Regions from separate parts of the Homo sapiens genome. Here region 2 is linked to region 1. Evidence: promoter capture Hi-C in human tissues and cell types (Jung and others, 2019). All regions are on one chromosome and are shown on one strand. Each heading gives the region's core, a stretch centred on a gene start or on the middle of the fragment in contact. The rest is flanking DNA. Distances are from core to core; before and after follow the strand shown.

The links. Contacts are between HindIII fragments. The study calls those that stand out against the background at their distance.
Region 2: a contact is called between a fragment that was not itself captured here and the fragment with the promoter of CEP85 in region 1, in 1 of the 25 tissues and cell types used here (bladder).

What each region holds. Positions count from the first base shown.
Region 1 is chr1:26,231,255-26,237,637 of GRCh38, forward strand. CEP85 (centrosomal protein 85) reads left to right here and starts at 2,946. Exons shown (of 14, transcript NM_001319944.2): 1 at 2,946-3,056. RefSeq lists enhancers at 3,145-3,294, 3,615-3,674, 3,765-3,814. The HindIII fragment of the contact is 8,629 bases long and covers 1-4,487 here.
Region 2 is chr1:25,919,080-25,925,370 of GRCh38, forward strand. No RefSeq gene overlaps it. Among named protein-coding and RNA genes, the nearest start is that of MIR3917, 16 kb to the left of the region's middle. The HindIII fragment of the contact is 9,013 bases long and covers 1-6,258 here.

The sequences.
Region 1 (6,383 bases), core at 1,696-4,195:
AGACTGGCCAACATGGTGAAACCCCGTCTCTATTAAAAATACAAAAATTAGTCAGGCATGGTGGCGTGCGCCTGTAGTCCCAGCTAATCAGGAGGCTGAGGCAGAAGAATCGCTTGAACCCGGGAGGCAGAGGTTGCAGTGAGCCGAGATCGCTCCACTGCACTCCAGCCTGGGCGACAAAGCAAGACTCCATCTCAGAAAAAAACAAAGAATATATCTAAAGAGGTTGGTCATGAATATTCTCTGAAACTAGGACCAAAAGTCTCTGTTAAAATATAAATGAGCTGAGAGTGGTGGCACATGCTGGTAGTCCCAGCTACTCTGGAGGTTGAACGGGAGGATAGCTTGAGCCCAGGAGTTTGAGCCCAGCCTGGGCAACATAAAGAGACTCCTTCTCAAATGCATGTGTGTCTGTGTGTGTGTGTGTGTGTGTGTGTGTGTGTTCCTCCTTTGAAACAATTTTCCAGTCTGATTCTTCAAGCTCATATTAACGCAAATGGACTTAATGGTTCCTTTTCCTGGGGACTAAGTTTGGGGAGGAAGGCAGGACTGATTCCTTACCCTTCAAACTAAACCCTGGTCACAGGCTGACCAGTGCCTCCAACCCAGACCAAGCCCTGACCCTAGCCTCAGACTGTGCAATAACCCTGACTAGCATATATGTATATATATACATATGACAAGTCATTCACATTTGAAAATTGGCAGTAGGGCCGGCCACGGTGGCTCACGCCTGTAATCCCAGGATTTTGGGAGGCCAAGGCGGGCAGATCACCTGAGGTCAGGAGTTCGAGACCAGCCTGGCCAACATGGTGCAACCCCGTCTCTACTAAAAATACAAAAATTAGCCGGGTGTAGTGGTGGGTGCCTATAGTCCCAGCTACTCAGGAGGCTGAGACAGGAGAATTGCTTGAACCTGGGAGGCAGAGGTTGCAGTGAGCTGAGATCGTGCCACTGCACTCCAGCCTGGGTGACAGAGCAAGACTCTGTCTCAAAACAAAACAAAAAAGAAAATTGACAGTAGATAATGGAATTACTTTTAAACTATAGATATCTATTACAAAGAACTGTACAAATGTACTGTTTGCTATTTGTAAATTTAAATCTCAACACTTCCACTATGTTTCCAGTCGGATTTCTCTTCTATCCTCTGTATCAGCAATTCACATCTTCCTAATTCTTCTCAGTCCTCTAGATGCCCCTGTTCCCTCCCTCCTCACATATGCCTTTCACAAAAGAAATGGAAGCCTTTCAATGTTTTCTGACTCTTCTTTCTCTTTCTTTCTTTCTTTTTCTTTCTTTCCTTCTTTCCTTCCGTCTTTCCTTCTTTCCTTCTTTCTTTCAGAACCTCGCTCTGTTGCCCAGGCTGGAGTGCAGTGATCTTGGCTCACTGCAACCTCTCCTCCTGAGTTCAAGTGATTCTCTTGCCCCAGCTTCCCCAGTAGCTGGGATTACAGGTGCCCACCACCACACCTGGCTAATTTTGTATTTTTAGTAGGGTTTTATCATGTTGGCCACAGGCTGGTCTCAAACTCCCGACCTCAAGTGATCCACCTGCCTGGGCCTCCCAAAGTGCTGGGATTACAGGCGTGAGCCACCGTGCCCGGCCAGGACTAACACTTTCTAGCTTTCTACCCTTCAGTCCATAAATTTATTCATTTAGACACCCTGTCTTAACATTTTTTTTTTTAGCCTTTACGTTAACAGAGGCTTCTGGTCCTAATTTCATATCATACCCAGGTTCATTTTCATTATCCATTAAATCTGCTATTTTATGTCTTCTATATTCTTATCTTAAAATACTAAAAGAGAGGACAAAGGATACAACCTTGGGGCACATCCCTAGGGTCTTTCCTCTAGAGTGACTTTTATTCAGTAATGAACTCACTTTGTCTGGCTCTTAAAGCTAAGAAATTATACAACTTTTTTTTTCCATACAACTTTTTTTTGGAGTGCAGGGGCACGATCTCGGCTCACTGCAACCTCCGGCTCCCTGGTTCAGGCGATTCTGCTGCCTCAGCCTCCCGAGTAGCTGGGATTACAGGTATGCGCCACCACACCCAGCTAATTTTTGTATTTTTAGTAGAGACGGGGTTTCACCATATTGGCCAGGATGGTCTCGATCTCCTGACCTCGTGATCCGCCCTCCTCTGTCTCCCAAAGTGCTGGGATTACAGGCATGAGCCACCGCGCCCGGCCTCCTATACAATTTTTTAGTATCTCTCCCTGCCAAGTCAGGTTTCTAGATACCCAGAATTTCACTATCTGAGATTCATTCCTTTGGCTGATGGTTCTGTTCTCCTTTCAAACAATTTTCCTGTCTGACTCTTCAAGCGCATATTAATGCAAATGGACTTAACAGTTCCTTTTCCTGTGGACCAAGTTTGGGGAGGGAGGCAGGACTGATCCTTTACCCTTCAACCTGAACCTTGGTCACAGGCTGACCACTGCGTCCAACCCAGACCAAGCCTTGACCCTGACTAGTCAGTGACCCAGGCCACACCCTAACTCCTGGTCACAACCTGAACCCCTGCTTCAGGTGTGAGAACTGATAGACCGGCGTTGGAATGGAAGGAGGGTGAGGCAAGCTGAGTGGGATTCTCGTGTCCCCAGCCCCGCCCGCGGGCCGCCAGCTTCCCAACCTGCACAGGCCCAGCAGGGCCCCTCCAGGTCTAGGTGAGCAGAGCTCCACCTACAGGTAAAACGCGGCAAGGGGCAGAGAAGGAGCCAAGTGGCGACGTGGTCATGCGCAGAAAGATCCGTCCGGCTCTCTGAGCAGAGGGTAGCGTGTGGGGGCGGGATACCGACGCGGCTCGGCTGCCGATTGGTCAGAAGAGGATAGAAAGGGGCGGGAAGCCGGCGCGGCTCGACTCCCGATTGGCCAGAGGCGGCAGAACGGGGTGGGGCCAAACGACGCGCGTTCTGTGGCGCGCGGCCTGGCGGGCGTGCAACGGCCGTTAGAGGAGCTGAGGGAGGGAACCACCGCTCACCGCAGACGTGGTGGCTGCAGTCAGTCTTCCCGAGTGAGGGATTTCGCCGCCCGCTTTCAGGCCCGTGTAAGTTTTCCTCCTTCGGGAGCCTCAGTCCTAGTGGCCGACCTTGCCTCTCCTCCCATAGCTCCGGCGAAGCCTCAGACGCTCGCGACCTGCCACCGTGAGGGGCCGGGGAGAGCGAAGCGCATGCGCCTCGGCTCCGAAGCCAGTGCCCCGGCATACGCCCTCTCGCGTCCCATTCCCCTCGCTTCCCCCGTTGCCTTGCTTTGCCGTCCGTGGTTCACCCCACGGCAGTCACTTTACCTGCGTGCCAGGCCCTGTGCCGATAGCCAGGGACACAGCGAGCGGCGCATTCCTTGCCCTTGCGGAGCGCACAGCCCTGGGAGTCGACGTTAAGCGGGGTAATCCCTCGGCGCGCAGTGAGGGTAGAGTGGAGAAATCTTACAAAGAGCGCAAAACAGAAGGCGCGGATCTAGTCGGAGAGGTCAGGGAGCCCTCCCCGAGGAGGAGAAGTTTGAGCCGAGATTGGAAGGCTGTGTAGAGAATTAAGGTTGTGGGACGGAAAGCACTTGGCGGGGCCTTACCCCGGTACTTCTCGGCCGGGGCGATTTTGCTTCCCTGGGGACATTGGTCGATGTCTGGAAACACTTTTGATAGTCACAGCTCCAGGGCTTGCTACTGGCATCTAGTGCGAAGAAGCCAGGGATGCTGTTACACAGCCTACTGTGTGTAGGACGCCCCCAACAACAAAGAAAAATCCCCCAAAATGTCAGTAGGGCGGAAGGTGAGGAAGCTTCCTTCAGCGAGAAGGAGCTGGTGCTTTGGTTGAACTGAAAGTTAGTGTGTTCAGGTTTATTTGTTCAACAGTATATTCAACGCTTACTTCACCTCAGTTAATGAGAGCGATCCTTTACACCAGTACATTCCCAACACGTGGCTCAGAGCCAGGCGCATAGTAGGCACGCAGTAAATTTCGGTTGATGAATTGAACACTGGGATAAGTAGGGGGCGGTGGTGATACAAGGACGATGAAGCTAGCCAGGCCTCATTTATTTGCCCTCAAACCTTGTCTGCTTTATAGTGATCTGGTGGTTTTGTATGTCTCACGACTTTTCTTTGTAAAGGCAACTTCTTGTCAAGGATTTGGCTTCTCTTTCACAAGGTTTAATGAATGATCAAGGCGGTGAAAATAGTGTAATGGTGTGAGATCCTTCGTGTGTCTGTGTCAGCTGTCTGTGTATCCCTTCAAATCCTCTCTTGTCTTGATGTGGTTCTCTTAACAGCTGCCAAGCATGATGTTCCACACTTAGATTGTAATTCTTTTTTTTTTTTTTTTTTTTGTGAGACGGAGTTTTGCTCTTGTTGCCCAGGCTGGAGTGCCGTGGCGCGATGTCGGCTCACCGCAACCTCCGCCTCCCAGGTTCAAGCGATTCTCCTGCCTCAGCCTCCCGAGTAGCTGGGATTACAGGCATGCGCCACCATGCACGGATAATTTTGTATTTTTAGTAGAGACGGCGTTTCTCCATGTTGGTCAGGCTGGTCTCAAACTCCCGACCTCAGGTGATCCGCCCGCCTCGGCCTCCCAAAATGCTGGGATTACAGGCGTGAGCCACCACGCCCGGCCACACTTAGATTGTAATTCTTATAGGGGAAAAATACTTACGGCAGTCAAAATCTAATTCTTGGGTAGCAACTTGAGAAATAAAGCCTAGGTGATGACCAAGGACAAAGTGAAGAAATTTTATGAGCTTTTACTGCTCATATAATTGAGGCTTGCAGCTCTAGCTGTCTGAGGCAGAAACTCCAACTTGTGGTGCCATGCTTGATCTCTTTTTTTGTGTTTTGTCACATGTAGAATGCTGACTAGACTACTGTAGCGTTAGAGTACAGTCCTGGCTTTGAAGCCTCTTCCTAGCCATATGACCTTCACTACTGTAAACCTTTATTTTCTCATCCATAAAATGAGGATAATAGTAACTGCCTCATAGGGTTGATGTGAACATGAAACATGAGACATGATACTTAAAAAGTGTTGAGCACAGTGTTTGATAGGTAGTAAGTGCAGAATGCATGTTAAATTTGTTGAATGAGTGACTGTTTCTGTAGTTTAAAGGGCTTTGAAGATGGAAACCAATCCTGTTGGGTGCTTTTTTTTTTTTTCCCCTCTGTCTGCCTCCATTCACTCCCTTTCTAAGCTTTATAACTGGTGTGTTACTTCTTGTACATTCACTTCTCTCATTTTTATCCCAGGAAATTTCTGTCTCCTTCAGTTGTCCCAAAAATTTCCACCAGTAGCTCATCTAATTCTTAAGTCAAGAATGATTTATTTTGTATTGTTTTACTCCTTACGGGGTTTCTTTCTTTCTGTTTTTCTTTTTTGAGATATTTGTTGTCAATGAGGGTCAGACTCTGAAATATTTGAAGGGATTTATTCTGAGCCAAATATGGGTGACCAGTGGCCCCTGACACAGCCCTCAGGTGATCCTGATAACGTGTGCCCTGGTTTTAAACATTTTAGGTAGACATGAGACATCAGTCAAATACATGTAAGATTTACATTGATCTGGAAGGGTAAGACAACTCTTAGTGGGTGGGGGCTTCCAGGTCATAGGTAGATTTCAAAATTTTCTGATTGGCAGTTGGTTGAAAGTTGTTATCAATAGAAAGGAATGTCTGGGTTAAGGTATCCTGGGGATCAACATTTTATTGTACAGATGAAGCCTCCAAATAGTAGGCTTTAGAGAGAATAGATTATAAATGTTTCTTACAGACATCTGTGTTAATGTTAATGCTTTTCCTAAATTCCAGAAGGGAGGAGGGTATAATGAGGGGTGTAGGACTCCACCACCACTACCACCATCATGGCCTTAACAGGTTTTTCAGCTTAACTTTGGAATGCCATTGGCCAAGGGGAGGGATCCATTCAGGTGGTTGGGGATGTCTTAGAATTTTTTTTTTGGCTTATATCACATAACATAAAATTTAATTTTATGTGTGTGCAATTCAGAGGTTTTTAATATATTGGCAAGGTTGTGCAGTCAGTCACCACTATCTAATCTCAGAACATTTTGATCACCCTGAAAAGAAACCCGGTATCCATTAGCAGTCCCTTCCTATTCTCCTACCCTCCCTCCTCTCAGTCCTTTGCAATCACTAATCTGTGTCTCTATGGATTTGCCTATTCTGACATTTCATATAAATAGGATCAAGCCTTTTGTTTGGCTTCTTTGACTTTGCATGTCTTCAGTGTTCATCCATGTTGTCACATGTATCAGTACTTCCTTTTATTGCTGAATAATACTCTGTTTTTTGGATATACCACATTTTATGTATCCATTCATTAGCTCATGGACGTTTGTGTTGTTTCCACTTTTTGGCTATTGTAAATAA
Region 2 (6,291 bases), core at 502-3,001, 310 kb before region 1:
CGCGGTGAAACCCCGTCTCTACTAAAAATACAAAAAAAATTAGCCAGGCATGGTGGCCAGGTGCCTGTAGTCCCAGCTACTCGGGAGCCTGAGGCAGGAGAATGGCGTGAACCCGGGAGGTGGAGCTTGCAGTGAGCCGAGGTTGCGCCACTGCCCTCCAGCCTGGGCGACACAGCAAGACTCGGTCTTGAAAAAAAAAAAAAGAAAAAAAAATTTTTCCAGCTGGGCATGGTGGCTCACGCCTGTAATCCCAACACTTTGGGAGGCCAAGATGGGCAGATCACTTGAGCCCAGGAGTTCCAGATCAGCCTGGCCAATATGGCGAAACCCCATCTCTACTAAAAATACTGGCCGTGGTGGCTCACACCTGTAGTCCCAGCAACTCGGGAGGATGAAGCAGGAGAATGCTTGAACCTGGGAGGCTGAGGCTGCAGTGATCCAAGATTGAGCCACTTTACTCTAGCCTGGGCGACAGAGAGAGACTCTGTCTAAAAAAAAAAAAAAAAAAAAAAAAAAAAAAAATCCTACTTTTATTTCAGGAGGTACATGTGCAGATTTCTTAAATGGGTATAATGTGTGATGCTGAGGTTTGGGATACCAATGATCTTGCCACCCAGATGGTAGCATAGATTACCCAACAGTTGGTTTTTCAAGTCTGTTTTCTTCATTACCATAGAACAGTGCCTGACAAATACTAGGTTCTCAATACATAGTTGGTATATGAACCAGCCAAGTTCATTAGGGGCTCAGAGCACAGTGGTTAAGAGTGTGGGCTCTGGAGTCAGGGTCTCTGAGTTCACATCCTGATTCTGCCTCTTACCTTCCGCAGAGTTTTTAGGATGAGTACCAGAAAACTCAGCCCAGGGAAGAATTTGTTGTTTTGATGCTGATTGTCCATTCATTCAACAGAAGGTTACTGATGAACCATGAGGTGTCATGTCTTGTACTAGGCCCTGGGAGCACAGGAAGAAAGAAGGCATGTCCCTGGCCTCAAGAGCTCATAGTAAGTAGACAAGCAGCTCAGAGCACTGATGGGGCGCAGGGGAGCAGAGGCTAACCCAGGCAGCGGAGGGGAAACAAGGAAGGCCTCCTAGAGAAAGGGGTGGCTGAGCTGATGAGGCCTGAAGGAAGCTTGTAGGCAAAGAGGAATGGGGAGAGGGTGCCAGGAAGAGGAAATAGCACAGCCAAATGCCTAGAAGAAGCCAGCCTAGAGCAGTAGCTGAACTGCAAGTAGTTTGCCCTGTCCCTCCAGCAGGTTTCAAGTTGAGGGATGTTAACCCTGGATTTGAGACAGGGGAGGGGATCTGGGGCAGCAGCACCAAGGCCATTCCTTGTGAGGTAGGAGGCAGGACTCGACACTGAATGAGATTTAAGACTGGCTGACGTGCCTACCAGTGCCATGACAGTTTACCCATTCCCTAGCAACAACCTGGAAGTTACCACCTTTTTCTAGAAATTTCTGGATAACCGGCCAGGCGCGGTGACTCACACCTGTAATCCCAGCACTTTGGGAGGCTGAGGCAGGCGGATCACGAGGTCAGGAGTTCGAGACCAGCGTGGCCAGCATGATGAAACCCCATCTCTACTAAAAATACACAAATTAGCCAGGCATGATGGCACACACCTGTAATCCCAGCACCTCTGGAGGTTGAGGCAGGAGAATCACTTAAACCCGGGAGGTGGAGGTTGCAGTGAGCCGAGATTGTACCACTGTACTCCAGCCTGGGCGACAGAGTGAGACTGTGTCTCAAATAAAAACAAATTTCTGAATAACCTGCCCCTTAATTTGCATGTAATTAAAAGTGGATATAAATGAAACTGCAGAACTGCCCCTGAGCTGCTAGACTCCACTCTCTCCTCAGTGGGAACAGTCACGGAGCTGTAACACTGCTGCCTCAATAAAGCTGTTTTCTTCTACCACTAGTTCACCCTTGAATTCTTTCCTGGTGGAAGCCAAGAACTTTCCCCAGTGGAGCGCCAGTGTTGAGGCTCCCCTGCCCTGCAAAATGTGTAAGCCCTTTGGGGTTGGGCGGGGAGCTAGGACTTTAAGGATGACCATCTAGAATCACAACATTGCAGGTTCTTTGAGCTGAGGGACCTGATGGGTCACACAGTCACTCTTGAATCCCTTCCCTGCATGTTGAAAAACTAAAAACCCAAAAAGTACAAAGAAGAAAATAACAATTATTCATATTTCCTATCACCTGGAATTAAACCACTGTTTACATTTTGACATACTTGTCTCCAGTATTTCATGAACATGCAGCTTAAAATTCCTTAAGTAATATATTAATGTACTGCCATTTTTATTTTATTTATTTATTTATTTATTTATTTATTGAGACAGAGTCTCGCTGCGTCACCCAGGCTGGATGGCAGTGGCGCGATCTCAGCTCACTGCAACCCCCGCCTCCTGGGTTCAAGCGATTATCTTGCCTCAGCCTCCCGAGTGACTGGGACTACAGGCGCCACCACGCCCGGCTAATTTTTGTATTTTTAGTAGAGATGGGGTTTCACTATGTTAGCCAGGTTGGTCTTGAACGCCTGACCTCGTGATCTGCCTGCCTTGGCCTCCCAAAGTGCTGGGATTACAGGGGTGAGTCACTGCACCCGGCTCTCATTTTAAAAAATAAAATTAGAATATTACAAAGAAAGCTGAAGTTGCCTCTCATCTCCACTTGCTATCCCAACTCCCCGCCCCTCTCTCCAGAGACAGCCACTCAGATGAATTAGGAGTGAACTGGAACTGAACTGAAAAGAACTGAATTGAAAATAATTTTTCAGTTATTTTTTAAAAAATGCTTTTATGTTCTGTTTGAATGTAATCACAGAAAATCCACAGTTCTGCTTAACATGTTACAAAAATTGTATTATATTGTATGCATTATTGTGCAACTTTCTACTTTTACTTAATATATTTTAGAGCTCTATCCATTTCTCTGCATGCATAGATCTGGCTTATTCCTTCTGTGATGCAGTGACCCGTTATGTAGATAGACCCCATTGTATTCATTCATTCCCTATGGACAGCCCTTGAGCTCTTTTCAGTGGTTTGTTATTAGATATGGTCCCGCAAGAGACAGCCTTCCTGAGTACATGTGCAAATATTTTTCTAGGGTAGAGACCAAGACATAGGATTATCTGGCACATGTCATGAATATTTCCAGTTTAAAGACAAATCCAGAGAATGCATTTCCCCATAACCTCACCAATATTTGCCATTGTCTAATTTTATTCCTTCCTTGCATTTTTGTAGCTGAAAAGACCGAGGCCTGAGGCTGGGTCACAGAGTGGGTTAGGTTCAGGGTCAAGACTAGACCCCACATCGCTTGGGGAAAGGAAAGGCCACGGTGTGAGAGGGAGTTGGCGGGGAGGGAATGGCTGAAATTAAACATGGTGATTATCCCACCATCAGTGGAAGTTATCCAGCAGCAGTGGACATGACTGCGAATCCTCCAGAAAATGGCTTCGCTGCGCTCCACGGATCTGCTCTCCCACCCCACCTGCGGCTTGCACAGCGACACACAAGCGTTGTGATTGGCTCTTCCTTGGCTGAGACAAGGGTGGGGACCGAAATGGCGTCTCTAACAGCTGATTTTTCAGGGCAGCAGCTCTGTGCTAGGAGAAGAGAAGGCCGGGCTCACTGGCGGTGCGGAGCCCGCCAGGGCCAATCCGCATCCGGGCGGAGGTGCAAGCCCGACCGCAGTACTGACACGTGCCGCGACGTCCCCTCCCGGCAGCTCGCGGGGACCTGGGAGCGGGTGGGGTCTCTGGCTGGCGGGGAGCCAGGGCTGCGGGAAACCGCACGAGGTCGCGTTCGCGAGTGGCGGAGAAGCCCAGACCCCCGGGCGCACGCGGCCGCGCCCACCCAGGTCGCTGGGAGGTGCCCGCCCGGGAGGCGCCGCGGCCAGTGCCTGCCGTTAGCTTCAGGAAGAACTAGGATTGAGTAAGAAACGACTAGGGATGGAAGCACTTGGCACTCCGGGTCTCGGAGCAGGCTGGGGACGCCCGCGGCAGGAACCTGGTCCTCCACTCCGGGTGCGGACCAAAGTCTGCTAGGGCTTCCCCGAAGTGGATTCAGTGACTCGGGAGAGGACCCAGCCCCTAGGCCCCATCCCCGGTTAAGGGCCAGTCTTGGTCTGGGTGTTTCTCTCCGGGAGCTGGTCGCAGGTTTCCGTTTTCCTCTTCAAGGAAGGAAAGACCAGCGAGAGAATTCGAGGGAAAGAACAAAAGCCGCCGGCACCGCCCAGCCCAATTTTTGGAGCCTGGGAGGCTGGCTCCCTTCCTCTGACCGCTGGGACGACTCGGAGGGCTGGCGCTTTTTCCTTCACCACCATTTCTTCCCAGCGACCAACTTTTGAGTCCTTGCTGTGTGCCAAGCACTTCACTGAGTGTCATATCTCACTTCCTCCCCACGACAATTGTAAGACATGACAGGCTTGGAAAGGAGAAGTCATTTGCCAAGGTCACGCGTGGAAAAAACGAGGGCTAGGAAATTCAGATCCTGGGTTTTAAATATTTTTGTATTAGAAAGGGTCTAAAAGTTAAATATTTGCAAACCTTTGCTAATCTTTCACAGATCCTTTTGAAATAATGACTATTGAGAATAAACCCTGCAGACATCTCCATACCGTTTTGTGTGTGTGTGTGTGTGTGTGTGTGTGTGTGTGTGTTTTAACTTGTCAGCCAGGCAGGTCCGTGGGAGGAGGGAGCAGCGCGCGAATGAGAGTGTAAACAGGTAACGAACACTTTTCTGGAAAGCAGTAGTGCCATTTCTATCGAGAGCTTTAAAAACTGTGCGTATCCTCTACTCGGGAAATGGCCACCCTCTGTGGAGATAGCAATAGTTTTCCACATGTAAAATCCCTGGGACCCAGCAATTCCTTTTAAGGGAATCCATTGTAGAGATGGGTGTGCTTGCACATATACAAAATGGCATACACACGTAAGGACGTTCATGACTGCACTGTTTCAGGAGCGAAGGATGAAAAACAACCCAGAAATGTATCAATAGAATTGATTAATTTAATCTGGCACTTCCATTTAAAGGAATTCTATGCAATATTTTAAGAAAATAAGGCAGTTCTCTATTTTATGTATAGAGCAATCATCAAGAAATATTAAGCAAAAAGAGGAAAGTGCAAAAGTATCTGATGTGCTACTGTTTCTATATGAAAAAGGGATCTATATTTTAAAATATATATATTTAAATATATAGATTCCCCCATAAGAAATATACACATGAAGAAAACAGGCAACCACATTGCCTTTAAGAAGAAAAACCTAACTATCACACTAGCCTTTAAGTGAAAAAAAAAAAAAAGAAAGAAAAAAGCAAAAAAAAAAGAAGGAATCACTGCTAAACGACCAAGCAGGAGAATTATTATTCTTATTGTGTAACCTTTAGTACCTTTGGAATTGTGTGCCATGTTTACATAACAACAATTCGAAATTCAACTTAAAAAAATAAATTCCCTGCCTCTAGACCCAGTACTTCTCCTTTTTGGAATCTAGCTTAAGGAAGTTAATGGATTTCAGACAAAGATTTATGCAAGAAGATATTCACTGAGGTGTTATCGTACAGGAAAAAGATGTAGGCAACTTAAAAGCCCAACAACAGAGGAACAGATAAGAAAATTATGGTATGTACATGTACTGCCTACCATGAAATCATAAAAAGAATGTTTATAAAAAATTTTATTGACATGGGAAAATGCTTATAACATTAAGTAATGAAGTCCTAGATAGAAAATTGTGTATGCAAGCTGGGCATGGTGGCTCACGCCTACAGTCTCAGTACTTGGGAGGCTGAGGCAGGGGGATCACTTGAGGCCAGGAGTTTTGAGACCAGCCTGGGTGATATAGGGAGACCCAGTCTCTGACCACTGTAACAGGAGCAGGCATAAAAAAATAATGGAAGAAAACATGCCAAAAAGTAAACAATTGTGGTTGCTGGACAGAGACACTGTGAGTGATATTTTTCCCCCCTCTGTAGCTTTCTTTCTTTTCTTTTTTTTTTTCTTCTTTTTTGAGACAGAGTCTTGCTCTGTCGCCAGGCTGGAGTGCAGTGGCACGATCTCGGCTCACTGCAACCTCCACCTCCCGGGTTCAAGCAATTCTCCTGCCTCAGCCTCCCGAGTAGCTGGGATTACAGGGCATGCCACTACGCTCAGCTAATTTTTGTATTTTTAGCAGAGACGTGGTTTCACCATGTTGGCCAGGATGGTCTCGATTTCTTGACCTTGTGATCTGCCTGCCTCGGCCTCCCAAAGTGCTGGGATTATAGGTGTG